4 separate regions of the Homo sapiens genome follow, and regions 2, 3 and 4 are each linked to region 1. The links are contacts of gene promoters, found by promoter capture Hi-C in blood cells and fetal thymus (Javierre and others, 2016). All regions are on one chromosome and are shown on one strand. Each heading gives the region's core, a stretch centred on a gene start or on the middle of the fragment in contact. The rest is flanking DNA. Distances are from core to core; before and after follow the strand shown. Region 1 holds the start of EPB41L4A-AS1 (EPB41L4A antisense RNA 1). Region 2 has its middle 52 kb from the start of WDR36. Region 3 holds the start of TMEM232 (transmembrane protein 232). Region 4 overlaps WDR36 (WD repeat domain 36).

Region 1 (2,500 bases), core at 1-2,500:
CTTCAGGTCACCTTTATGCTCCCAGATGGTATTCAGCTAGCAGCAGTCTACACTTCAGGCATCCATCTTCCACCTGAACAAAAATTAGAACTGGCTAAGAGAAACCATACACTTAAGGCTAGCAGGGTCAAGATCACGCGTGGAAACGTAAAAGCAGCAACTGTTACTTATGCAGCTCCTACACCAAAGGTATCAAATTTAAGGGCAGGAAAAGGCTGCAAAGCGTTTAATTTACGCCTTTTTTGACACCACATTCACTAGTTTCCAAAGTGAATGGGCAACACAAAGGCTGACACTGCGTGAGGTAGGCTTTATGGCATAAGGTTGCTGACTGGCTGACAGTAATGCCGATTACAGCCTAAAAACGGACAATACATTTCAGAGAAATTTTCTCACGATTTAAAATCCGACTTAATAATGAAAAGTGAAATGCGATGCGTTTTAAATGGCGACTGGTCTTGCACGAACGTGAAAACTCACCTGTAGGGTAGGTGATCACTCCCGACGAGCACCGCACGTGGAAACAGCTGTAACCAGGCACGCTGCTTTTAAGTTATTTTATACGGGGGCAGGGCAAGCATAAAGTCAGTTATACGGTAAGGCCTTTTCACTGACGAAAATAAAACCAGGCTTATCTGGAGAACTCCCTGGCATAGTCGATGATGTAAACACAAATCGACGAAGCTCCCCGTTTCCAAACGTGGGAACGCAGGCCTGAGGCCAGGCCGCTGCCCTTGTTCACGGCCCCGGACACTTCGGACACAGGCCGCCGCAGTCGACTCACCAGACTCAGGGTGGCCGCGTTCCCCCGCCCGGCGCCCCTGCGTGAGAGACCACGCGGCCACAGCCAGGCGCCATCCCAGAGGACCCAGAGCAAAAACCACAGCAAGCTCGCACCAAAAGGAAGAAAGGACAGGCTTCCGTCCCACAATGCTTTTCTACAAGTGGAAGGACCCACTGTCCGAGAGCGCGAGGGGGGAGCGGGCTGTACCATCGGCCGCTGCGCTATGGCGAGACGCCGCCGTGTGGCCGGAGGGAGAAGTGCCAGTGAGGGACCGAGGGGCGTGTCACCAAAGGGAGGAGGAGCCTGGGTTCTCAGCCCGAGTCACCTCTGCGGATGTGTGGCCAGTTCTTTCCACAGAGGAGGTATCCAGACATCCCCCCACCCGACCAGGGTCAAGAGCATATGATCAGTGCTGGCAGCGGCAGGAGCCCAAAGGACTTTAGACCACGTATTTTGGGACCCGACAGAATTCATGAGTCCAGCTGAGGAAGAGTAGAGTCATTCATTCGAAAGATATTTAGTCAGCACTTACTATGCTCCAGGCCCTGGCCTGAGTGCCTGGGAATCAGGTGTGGGTGAGCCAGGCAAGGTTTCTGTGGTACATTCTGCTTGGGTGAGTAGGCCACTGACCAAGTGAGCCCGGATGCTGAAATTCTACAATGTAAGTGCCAGGAGGGCAGCAAAAGAGGGTCATGCCATAGGGTAGCGCTGTCCGATGGAAACAGTGTGAGCCATGAGTGTAATTTTAAATTTTCCAATTGCCACATAAAATGTGAAAAGAACGCCGGGCGCGGTGGCTCATGCCTGTAATCCCAGCACTTTGGCAGGCTGAGGCAGGTGATCACCTGAAGTCAGGAGTTCAAGACCAGCCTGGCCAACATGGCAAAACCCCGTCTCTACTAAAAATACAAAAATTACTTGGGCTTGGTGGCGGGCGTCTATAATCCCAGCTACTTGGGAGGCTGAGGCAGGAGAAATGGCTTGAACCCGGGCGGGGTGGGGGTGGAGGTTGCGGTGAGCCGAGATCATGCCACTTGACTCCAGCCTGGACAAAAGGGCGAAACTCCGTCTCAAAAAAAAAAAAAAAAAAGTAAAAAGAAACAGATCAAATTAATTTTAATAATAACCCAACATATTTTAAATATTTCAACAGGCAATCAATATGAGATTATTAATAAGATATTTCTTTTATATCTACTAAGTCATAAAAATCCGGTGTATATTTTATACTTCCAGCACATTTCCGTTCAGACTAGACACATTTCAAGTGTTCAGTAGCTCATGGGGCTAGGAATAGGAAGACTGGAAGTGAACTCCGAGCAGATGTGTGAAGGCGGTTATGCAAGATCTGGAGACAGCAGGCCTTGGCCAGTGTGGCTGGAGTCGAGTAAGGAGTGTAGAGTGACAAGATGCAGCTGGAGAGCCAGGCAGGAGCAAGGCACTTAGGGTCTTGTCACACAGGGCAAGGTGTTGGGATTTTATGCTGAAATCTTAGAGTTGATTAATTATCACCACAAAAATTAAGCAGAGTTTGTTAATTGGCTTTTTTCCTGATAACCATAACTCCTTGAAGGGACAGGACAAGTGGCAGCAAGACAAGTTGTATGATAACAACTAGGTCTCCATGTTTCTCTAAGTCCTAGCAGAGATTCATCCAGAGACCAGTTTTAGCACCTTTCGTTGTTTCTTTGAAGCCTACTTCTATAAAAGAAAGAA
Region 2 (3,398 bases), core at 471-2,970, 1.0 Mb after region 1:
TAGAAGCCAAGTGTCTCTGACTCCAAGGTCGTCTGATGTCATACCTTTCCAACTGTAAGTTCAAAGTGTAGGCAGTTTAGAATTTAGGCTACAATATAAATCCCTTATTAATATCTCTCTCTGTCTCTCTTTTTACTATAATTGGGAAACTCTAACTGTAAGCTTCTTTGGGAGCAAAAATTTTGTGATCTTGTGATACTGTCTCAGTATTTTTTTTCACCTAAACAACTCTACTCTATAACTCTCAAGTTTAGTATTTACTTAGAAGCAGGAGATGTGAAAATTTTGAGTGCCCTAAGTATGTCTGGAAATACCTCAATTTGATTTTCACAGTCCAGTGCTACTCAACAAACTATAACTGAGCACTTACTCTGTGCTAGAAACAGCATTTCTGCTTTCCAAGGACCTCTAAGGTAAGAGATAAATAAACAAATAGTTTTATAACAACATAACTTAATAAAAAATATAAAATTACTATGAGACTTATGTGTAGGATGTTTTGAGTACACCGAATAGGAACACTTAACCCATCCTGGGGTAAGGTTAGTGGTCAGAAGAGGTTCCCCATAAGAGAAAGAATTCAAGTCTTGATGTCTAGTGCAGAAGTAGGAAAAGTGCAATCTGGGGAGTGGGAACATCTATTTAGAAACCACCAAGTCACTTCAAACTCAACTACCCTCACTTCATCCTCAATTACCTCCTTGCATTTGCATGTGCACACCTCTCTCTTTCTCTCTTACACACACACACACACACACACAATTTCTTATCGTGGTGAATAACAATCACACAATCATCCATCCAGTACTACAAATAGAAACCCAGGAGTTGACTTTATTATCCACCTCTCAACTATCACCAAGTCTATTTCTACCTCCTAAATATCTTCTTAGTTGCATCCCACACATAATGATATATCATATTTCTATTACTATTTAGTTCAAACTATTTTCTATATTGTGTCTACTGTTAAATCCATCCAATGAATGTTTTAATTTTTAAATTTATAATTGACACATAATAACTGTATGTTTATGTAGTACAACCTGATATTTTAATGCATATATGCATAGTATAAAGATTAAATTGGGGTAATTATCATATTAACCACCTCAAATATTTATCATTTCTTTGTGGTGGCAATGTTCAAAAATCTTCTAGCGATCTTGTAATATGCACTGTATTGTTATTTGGTACAGTCACTAATGCTGGTGAAGATGCAGAGAAAAGGGGATTTTTATACATCATTGGTGAGAATATAAATTGGTACAGTTATTATGGAAAACAGTATAAAGATTTCACAAAAAATTAAAAATAGAAGTACCATCTCCAGCAATCCCATTACTGGATACATATCCAAAGGAAATGAAATCAGTATGTTGAAGAGACATTTGCACTGCCTGTTTATTGCAGCATTACTCACAATAGCCAAGATTAGGAAATCAACTTAAATGCTCATCTGCACATTAGTGGATAAAAAAAATGTGGCATATATACATACAGTGGAATACTATTCAGCTATAAAACAGAATGAAATCCTGTCATTTGTGGCAACATAGATAAACCGAGAGGGCATAAATTCAGACAAGCCAGGGAGAGAAAGAGAAACTGCATGAACTGACTCATATGTGGAATCTAAACTTGATTTCACAGAAGTAGAAAGTAGAATAGTGGCCACCAGAGGCTGGGAGGAAAGGGGAAAGGGAGGACTTGGAAGAGGTTGGTCAATGAATTTACTAACTTAGATATTTAATAAAATATCTATATTTTATTTTTCAGTTCTAGAATATTATTTTAGTAATTGTCAGGAAATTATAATAGCTCTGTTAAAATTCTCCATCTTTTCATCCAGTTTGTTCATATTTTCTTCAACTTCTAATAGTTTCAATTTATCTCTGGTTTCAAATGTCTTCAGTGCAAGATCAGTCCTGTATGTATTACAAGTCCCTCCCTTTGGCAAGCCTTTGGGATCTCAGCACAATGAGTTGCCAAGAACTCCCTCTATCTGGGAGGGACTTACTATCCAGCCTTCAGATTACTGGGCTACCACATCCTCTCACACAAGTCTCCCGAGGGAGAATCGGTGGGCGGGAGAACTTGGCCTTGAAACTCCTCCAGATTCCAGTTGGTCTCACTAACCCACACACAGACATTTAAAACTCCACTGACTGCACCTTATGCAGGAAGAGTCTCCCTGCTTGAATCAGGCCCAATCCTCACCAGCCCACGCCTGACTCAGTAGTTGCCCCTAGCGAAGGTAATGCCTACTGATTTTCATTCTCTAGGAAGCACTTGTCTCCCTGGAATAGGGTTCCTTTGGACTTCTTCCTATCCACAACATTTTGATGGCTTAAAAAACATGTATGTTATTATATTATACTTTATTTTTTAATTGTTATAACTAAAACTGCAAGCCCCTTGTTATATGATCAGTAGTATGTTGTGAAATGCTACAGTCGAATCCATAAATAGCCCTTGAATACATCCAGTTTTCTCTGTCTCTGTTCTACCACCTGATCCAAGACACCATCATCTTCCCCAAATTCCTCATTGGTCTCCCTACTTTTATTCTCATTTCACTAGTCTTTAATCTGTTCTTCATTCTGCAATCATTGAACTCTTTAAAATGCGGACCTAATGATAGCACCCTCTTGATGAACACTTTTCAATATCTTTACTCGGAGGATAAAGATAAAAATCCTTAAAGCGTGATTTTTGGATGATAATGATGTGTCAGTGTAGGTTCATCAGCTATAACAAATTTACCACCTTGGTGGGGGTATTGATAACGGGGGAGGTTGTGCTTGTTTGAGGGGAGGGGGTGTATGAGAAATCTCTGTACCTTCCTCTCAATTTTGCTGTGAATCTAAAACTGCTCTAAAAATAAAGTCCATTAGAAATATATACATATATACAATTTGTCCATAAATAACAATCTTTACAGGCTATTCATCCCGACAGATGAGGTGATGAAAAGACTGACTCATCAATACTTTCCTCAGACATCCTAGACTAGGCCTGAGATTGGCCTTAATTCTTCTTGCTGAATGAGTATGGGATCAATAGAGGGCCCTCCAACCTCAAGGTCGCCACAGCATCAAAGCATCCCAGAATCTAACTTAACTTTCCATTGTTTTAACAATTATTTTATTAGGGACTTTACTCATAAGTGACAATCAGTAGAGTTGAGACCAGGGGTCGAGAGCAGTTGAGACCACCCGGTGCCAGCCCTTAAGTCGGGAGAGGCCTGGAATTCGGGCTGCTGTTTAGTAAGCTTATAGAAAAGAGTAGGGTCACTCTCACAACTGTCACCTTCTTTTCTTTTCTTTTTTTTTTTAGACAGAGTCTCGCTCTGTCCCCAGGCTGGAGTGCAGTGGCGCGATCTCGGCTCACTGCAA
Region 3 (2,918 bases), core at 140-2,639, 1.4 Mb after region 1:
AAGCATAATTGTGCCATACTAAGGGGTTAGGATGGTTTTGACATGCTTATTTTCCTAATTGCTAATTAATGGCCATTTTAGGATTATATATATATAGGTATATATATAATAATTTGAAAAAATTAGATTTGTCTTGTCAAAACTTCAATGTAGATGACTAATTAAAGGGAGAAAGGGGAGGTATGACTTTATTAGATTTATTTTTCTTACATAAATTTTCTAAATATTCTTGTCATTTTTTAAAATCATTGTGGGTCTCCTATTAGCTTAATATTATTGTGACTCTAAGGTTATACCAATATTATCTTAAAATTATTTAAAATTATTTCCTGTTTTAAGCTTCATTCCTCTGAGATTTATTGTTGCTATGGTATGAGATAGTAGTTCAGATTTATTTTCTTTCAAATTGTGCTCAGCCTCTGTACAGTTTTTCCCCACTGAGTTAAAATGGCAAATTTATCATATATAAATTTTATGCTTTTTCTGTAATCTTTCATTCTACTGATATATATATAAATAAAATCAGTAGATACATATATAAAATCAGTAGATATATTTAGAATAAGTAGATATGTGTAATATATATATATATGTATTTGTGAATTCTTCCTTATATAAACTTGTTCTGTTGTCTTCACTGTAGAATCGATGGGGTGACTTTTTTTCTCTAAACATGCTATAGTTTCAACTGATTCTTATATTATGGAGAAGAATTTTTTATTCGGCCTTCCTTTTATTCCTTTTTAATTCAATCTTCATTTGATTATGAATAACCTGGTTAACAGTTTGTATTTTTTTATGCTTTTAACACTTTTCTAGATCTCTTGAAATTAAAACAAGCAAGCCCCCAGGCTATTATTAAATACCACAGTCTTTTCATTTTTATTTTATCTGGATTATGGTAAGCACTGTTGATATTCTAGGATTTGTTCTCTCACATATGTAGTTTATAGTCTTTGTCAATTTCACTTTTCATTATTACCTTTAACTTACTGATCTTCTAGGAGTGATACGTCAGAGAAGCCTGAGATCACATATTGTAATTTCTGTTTTAAACATAAAAATGCACTCAAAAAACAAAAAAACTTAATTCCGAATCGAAGTAGTTCAAGTTAAATTTTCTTTCAAAGTTCTAATTTTTAAAGGCAGGTCATTTCACAGGACAATCCCTGTATATTACGTTTTAGTATTTTTTTTTTCTTTAGATGGAATCTCGCTCTGTTTCCCAGGCTGGGGTGCAGTGGCATGATCTCGGCTCACTGCAACCTCCATCTCCTGGGTTCAAGCAATTCTCCTGCCTCAGCCTCCTGAGTAGCTGGGATTATAGGTGGGTGCCACCACGCCTGGCTAACTTTTGTATTTTTAGTAGAGACGGGTTTCACCATGTTAGCCAGGATGGTCTCGAACTCCTGACCTCGTGATCCGCCCACCTTGGCCTCCCAAAGTGCTGGGATAACAGGCATGAGCCACTGCGCCCGGCCTACGTATGAATTTAATCATAAATGCCCTTCCCCATTCTTCCATATAGTATTTTACACTGGTGAACCTTTGTAAAATATATACAGTTGCTCGTTAGTAGACATAGGAATTCTACAAGGATTTTTAAAGGACTTATATTAGATAATTCTATTGCATACTACCTTTAAAAAGAGGCGTTCTTTTGTGTTTAAATTCGCCCTCTGGTGTTTAGTACATAGCAGAACATTCTAGGTGCTTTGTTTACTCACTGACGGGTGCTGAGGACACTGACTGCTCCAAATTTTCTATGTAAAAGGAACTTACGAACGGCAATTTAATTTAAAGACATAGCTACTTTTGGTATGATAGGCGTGCTGGTTTGTTTTGGGGAAGCAGCATTAAGACACTGAGGAGACATTAAAGCACTGTGAAGCCGCTTCTTGCCGTGGCTTCTTGCAGGATATGCAAGTATGTACAATATTCGAAACAAATCATTACTATGTTCTTTAAAAACGAATAAAGGTCTTTCACACAACATTGCATTTATTCTTTAGAAATTGAACACAAATGTGGTGGAGACGGGACAGGGCAGGTGGAAATTCACTTATAAGTCCTGATTGGCTAAGCCCTGGTCACGAGACCGTAAAAGAGCAACGTCTGTCTCAGAGCGACTCCCACAGCGTCCTTAGCAACCAGCCTTGGTTCCCAGCGGCTCAGAGCGCAGCGGTGAGTGATTAAGAGGTCCTGCTTCAGATGATTTGGGAGCTCAGGTTATTGTCATATTCACCATCCTAGGGCAACTGAAAGACCCACAAAGATCCTCACAGGGGAATACTGAGCCTCCTTTCTCAGGGTGCCATAGCTTTGTTAGAAGAAACACTACTCGCAACCCCAGGCTGGGCCTGCTATCTGGGCCCCTCCTAAGAGTCTAAGCAGTCCATCCTGGAAAAGCCACCAGGTCGTTTGATAGGGGAAGCTTTTTTGTTGGGGAGAATAAAGGAGGTGGGAACTTTCTTATTGCTATGAATAGGGAAATTCATTTAATCTCCCCTGGACTCGCTTATCCTGGGGCAACCTTGAATTCAGAAGACCAGTCTTCACACATCCTCTGTGGTTGGTGAAATTGCACCTTTTTGATTTTTATTTATTTATTATTTATTTAGTATGAAGACTCTTGGACTTCAAAAGAGAAGGTTCAAAAATTTGGCGCTCTGTGTGTGTGTGTGTGTGTGTGTGTGTGTGTGAAAGAGAGAGGGGGGTATATTGGAGATGTGTAATAAAACAATTTTTAAAAGCCGTTAATCTTGAGAAAAATATCCAAGTTGTCTATTAGAAAAATTTCTAGGAGGGGATAAGACTGTAGTAAGAGTCTCTTATTTACCTTACCATCTTAACAGTATGTCTGAACAAATTCTATCATTTGGTTGGTCAAATAATTTGCTTCCTCAGGTTAGAGTCTA
Region 4 (3,083 bases), core at 481-2,980, 1.0 Mb after region 1:
AGGAAAACCATGGCCTGGCTGGGGACTCCCTTTTCCTAAACTTTTAAAAATCACTCATTCTTTCTGCAAATAAAAGCCAAATGTAACAGACAAAAATCAATCATGTGGTTTAGAATATACTTCAGCAAAGCTGTCTACATTATCAAGCAGATGTTGAATCACTCAGACTTACAGTGAATTAAGTATCTGTGTTAACTTGTGACATTTCCATTTAATACACTTAAAAACAGCCTAAATGACAATTTTAGCAACTCTAACTCTCTGACAATACAATCTTCTTCATCCCAAAACAGAACTGTATGAAAGAACTTACCATAGATAAATTCCAAGGTGGTCCACATGGGAAGTTGCCAGAAAGTCTCCAGTAGGAGACATAGAAACATTGAGAGGAGCCGAGTCCAACAAAAAGCAGTCTATAAGGCTACAGAAATAATTAACATGTTAAAAGTATTTGAACTCTACCAAAAAGGAGATAATTCACAAAAATATTTTTGCCAAAAAGATAAGGGATAAGAGATGCAGAAAATGTTTTCTTTTTTTTAATCACCAGCATTGATCAGAAAGTCACCACTAATAAACAGCTTTGTTAACTAAGTTACTATGTGAAAATAATCTCACTTAATGAGAAAGACAACATTAACTAGACTGACTAACTGGAGAAGCAGTTTCAACAACAGGGAGGAAACAGGAGGAAATTTTCTGTTTTTCTCGAATACTAAATTTTGGTAGACTGACTTGGAGACAATTCTAAAGATATAACATTTAAAATAAATCTAATTATCAGTATTCTGTATTTCTGTTACTTCAGTGAAACTAATGAAAAGCTTAGGCAAAAGGAGAAAGTAATATAACAAAATGGATGTAAATAAGAATAGTAATTTAAAAAAAGCTTTTGAGCAACTGTACCTATTTTTCAAATAAGTAATCATGCTATACATGAAACACCATGAAAATTCAGTCTCTAGAGAAGAACCATAAAGCAATTTATGGAAACTAGTCCCATAGCTTTAAACTGCTGAAGGGATTTACAAGTTGGGGTGAAAGGGAGAGTAACCACAAACCAGGTAGAAGACTCAGAATGGGCTTCACAGAGAACACTTATGTTTGAGAGGAGCTTTACAAATGGACAGGATTTCAATGGATATTGGTGTCTAGTAGAGAAAGCATTTCCTGGCTAAGAGAAATGTGGTGGATAAGGCAAGGGAAAATACAATTGTGTAGAGTGAGGAGTGCAGTTTTGTAGGACCATTAAGCATAAGCATAAGGCTGCATACAATGTCTTACATATCAAACACCTGAGTTTGTGTTAATCTTATAATCGATGGAAAGTCATTAACCACTTAAGAGGAGATAGTGGCATAATCTTCACTTCCATAAAAACTTGCCATCAGAATGCAGAATATATTTGAACAGAGAGAATGGTGACAGTATGGTAGTAATCATCTAACAATCAACAAAGATAACTAGGATGGTGGTAGCAGGAAGTGAAAAGAGGTAGATTTAAGAAGCAAAGAGAAAGGCCTACACTCATCTGAATCCTGCTGAAAGACCCCTTAGGCTGGCTAAAAGCGAGAATAGCTTTAAGCAGAGTATACTGGTTTTTAATTACAGCTTTTCTGAAGCCAATATATTATCCATAGGAAGGTACACACAAATGACTCAAGTTCCGGATGTACATTAATACAAATTATTTCAAGAACAAGATTAACACTTTTTTAGTGTTCTGTGTGAGGAAGTATCCTCAGCACTTGAGCGTGCTAACTAATCGAATCTTCACAAACCCTATTAAGGCGGATCAGTCCAGAAAACTGAGGCCCAGTAAGATTTGAAAACTCGCTCAAGGTAGAAAGCAACTGGGTCAGGATTTTTACCCAAGCAGTTCTACCCAATTTATATTGTTAGCCAATATAAATTCTAGTAAAGCCACTACTGAAACTAAAACACAAAAACAGGGCAACAGCTTACACACACTGAGGGTATGCCTACATCAGTGATTCATGGGACACACACTGTGAGCAGCTCAAATGTAAATGAAGACTGTCCAGTGGGAGGCATTAAGTTGCTTGCCCATGGTAAAACGCCTCTCTCAATTTGCTAAAAGAGCCAATAAAAATGTAAACCTTAAACAATGAATGCAAGATGGAAAGAAAAGACAACAATTAGAAGCACTGGAAACAAACACACACACATCAAAGTGTGTTCAGGAAAAGGACTGCTGTTTAATTGTCCATTATGGGGAAGGGAGCAATAACCTGTCTGATTTCTGTTCAAGTCTGTTTTGAAAGCCCACAAGAATGGCTTTTATTGGGAATCAAGAGAATTGGGGAAAAGAAAACATTTGCTAAATACTTATTCTATGCCATACACTATTAAATTATTTATGTTAAGTCATTTAATCCAAACAATCCAGAGATGAAGATATTATCCTAACACATATAAAGATTAAACCTAAAACACGGCAATTTCAAATCTTAAGGTATTTCCTTTGTCTTAATATTACTCATCAAAAGTTTACATACGTGAAGGGTAAAACTTCCTAACATGTTTAGGTACTATCTGTTAAAAAGCTTACTGCTTGAGCAAACTTATTTTACTTCAAACTATAATTATCTTGTCAACTTCATTGTGTAACTTCATTTCCACAGCTGTGGTGTGTGGGTAGATGGGACTTCCATTATATAAAACCACCAAATTGAGGAAGGTGGTTTCCACATACACAGCATATTCTACACTGCCACATTAGTTCATGAAACATAAATGCACAGGCTCATCCCAGACCTAAAACTACCATACAGTTTCATGGTAATCTTAAAAAAGTAAGTCCCAAGGTACCTTACAATTTTTTCTGAAATAATATTAAAACAATTCCTATTCTAAGAGATCAGATTTACAAGATCAGAGCCCTGCATAACAATTCAGAAGGTTGTTTCTGATTATTATTCTGAGCAAATGGAGACTGCTTCCATATGTTCTATTTCCAAAGTGCTAAAATCACCTTCCACAGAAATCTTTAAGGAAGAAGGGGATGTTTCTGCCTCAGTGAGAAATTGAAAACAATGTTCTATTCCAATTATTCTCATGTA

What was found. The method cuts DNA at HindIII sites, captures the fragments that hold promoters and counts their contacts. A CHiCAGO score of 5 or more calls a contact.
Region 2: a contact is called between a fragment that was not itself captured here and the fragment with the promoter of EPB41L4A-AS1 in region 1, in 8 of 17 cell types (M0 macrophages, M2 macrophages, M1 macrophages and 5 more). The highest score is 9.5, in M0 macrophages.
Region 3: a contact is called between a fragment that was not itself captured here and the fragment with the promoter of EPB41L4A-AS1 in region 1, in 3 of 17 cell types (naive CD4 T cells, fetal thymus and total CD4 T cells). The highest score is 8.4, in naive CD4 T cells.
Region 4: a fragment that was not itself captured here is called in contact with the fragment with the promoter of EPB41L4A-AS1 in region 1 in 1 of 17 cell types (M0 macrophages); the score reaches 7.7 in M0 macrophages.

What each region holds. Positions count from the first base shown.
Region 1 is chr5:112,159,276-112,161,775 of GRCh38, reverse strand. EPB41L4A-AS1 (EPB41L4A antisense RNA 1) reads right to left here and starts at 1,250. Exons shown (of 3, transcript NR_015370.2): 1 at 481-1,250; 2 at 1-73. SNORA13 (small nucleolar RNA, H/ACA box 13) reads right to left here and starts at 291; the gene lies at 159-291. It also overlaps a transcript of EPB41L4A not described here. RefSeq lists enhancers at 446-495, 606-655, 676-775, 551-1,283, 1,156-1,365 and 1 more. The HindIII fragment of the contact is 7,805 bases long and covers 1-2,500 here.
Region 2 is chr5:111,142,767-111,146,164 of GRCh38, reverse strand. No RefSeq gene overlaps it. Among named protein-coding and RNA genes, the nearest start is that of WDR36, 52 kb to the right of the region's middle. The HindIII fragment of the contact is 3,112 bases long and covers 165-3,276 here.
Region 3 is chr5:110,725,893-110,728,810 of GRCh38, reverse strand. It overlaps TMEM232 (transmembrane protein 232), which reads left to right and starts at 2,140. Exons shown (of 14, transcript NM_001039763.4): 1 at 2,140-2,184. The HindIII fragment of the contact is 2,095 bases long and covers 342-2,436 here.
Region 4 is chr5:111,116,351-111,119,433 of GRCh38, reverse strand. It overlaps WDR36 (WD repeat domain 36), which reads right to left. Exons shown (of 23, transcript NM_139281.3): 17 at 314-421. Among named protein-coding and RNA genes, the nearest start is that of WDR36, 26 kb to the right of the region's middle. The HindIII fragment of the contact is 1,678 bases long and covers 892-2,569 here.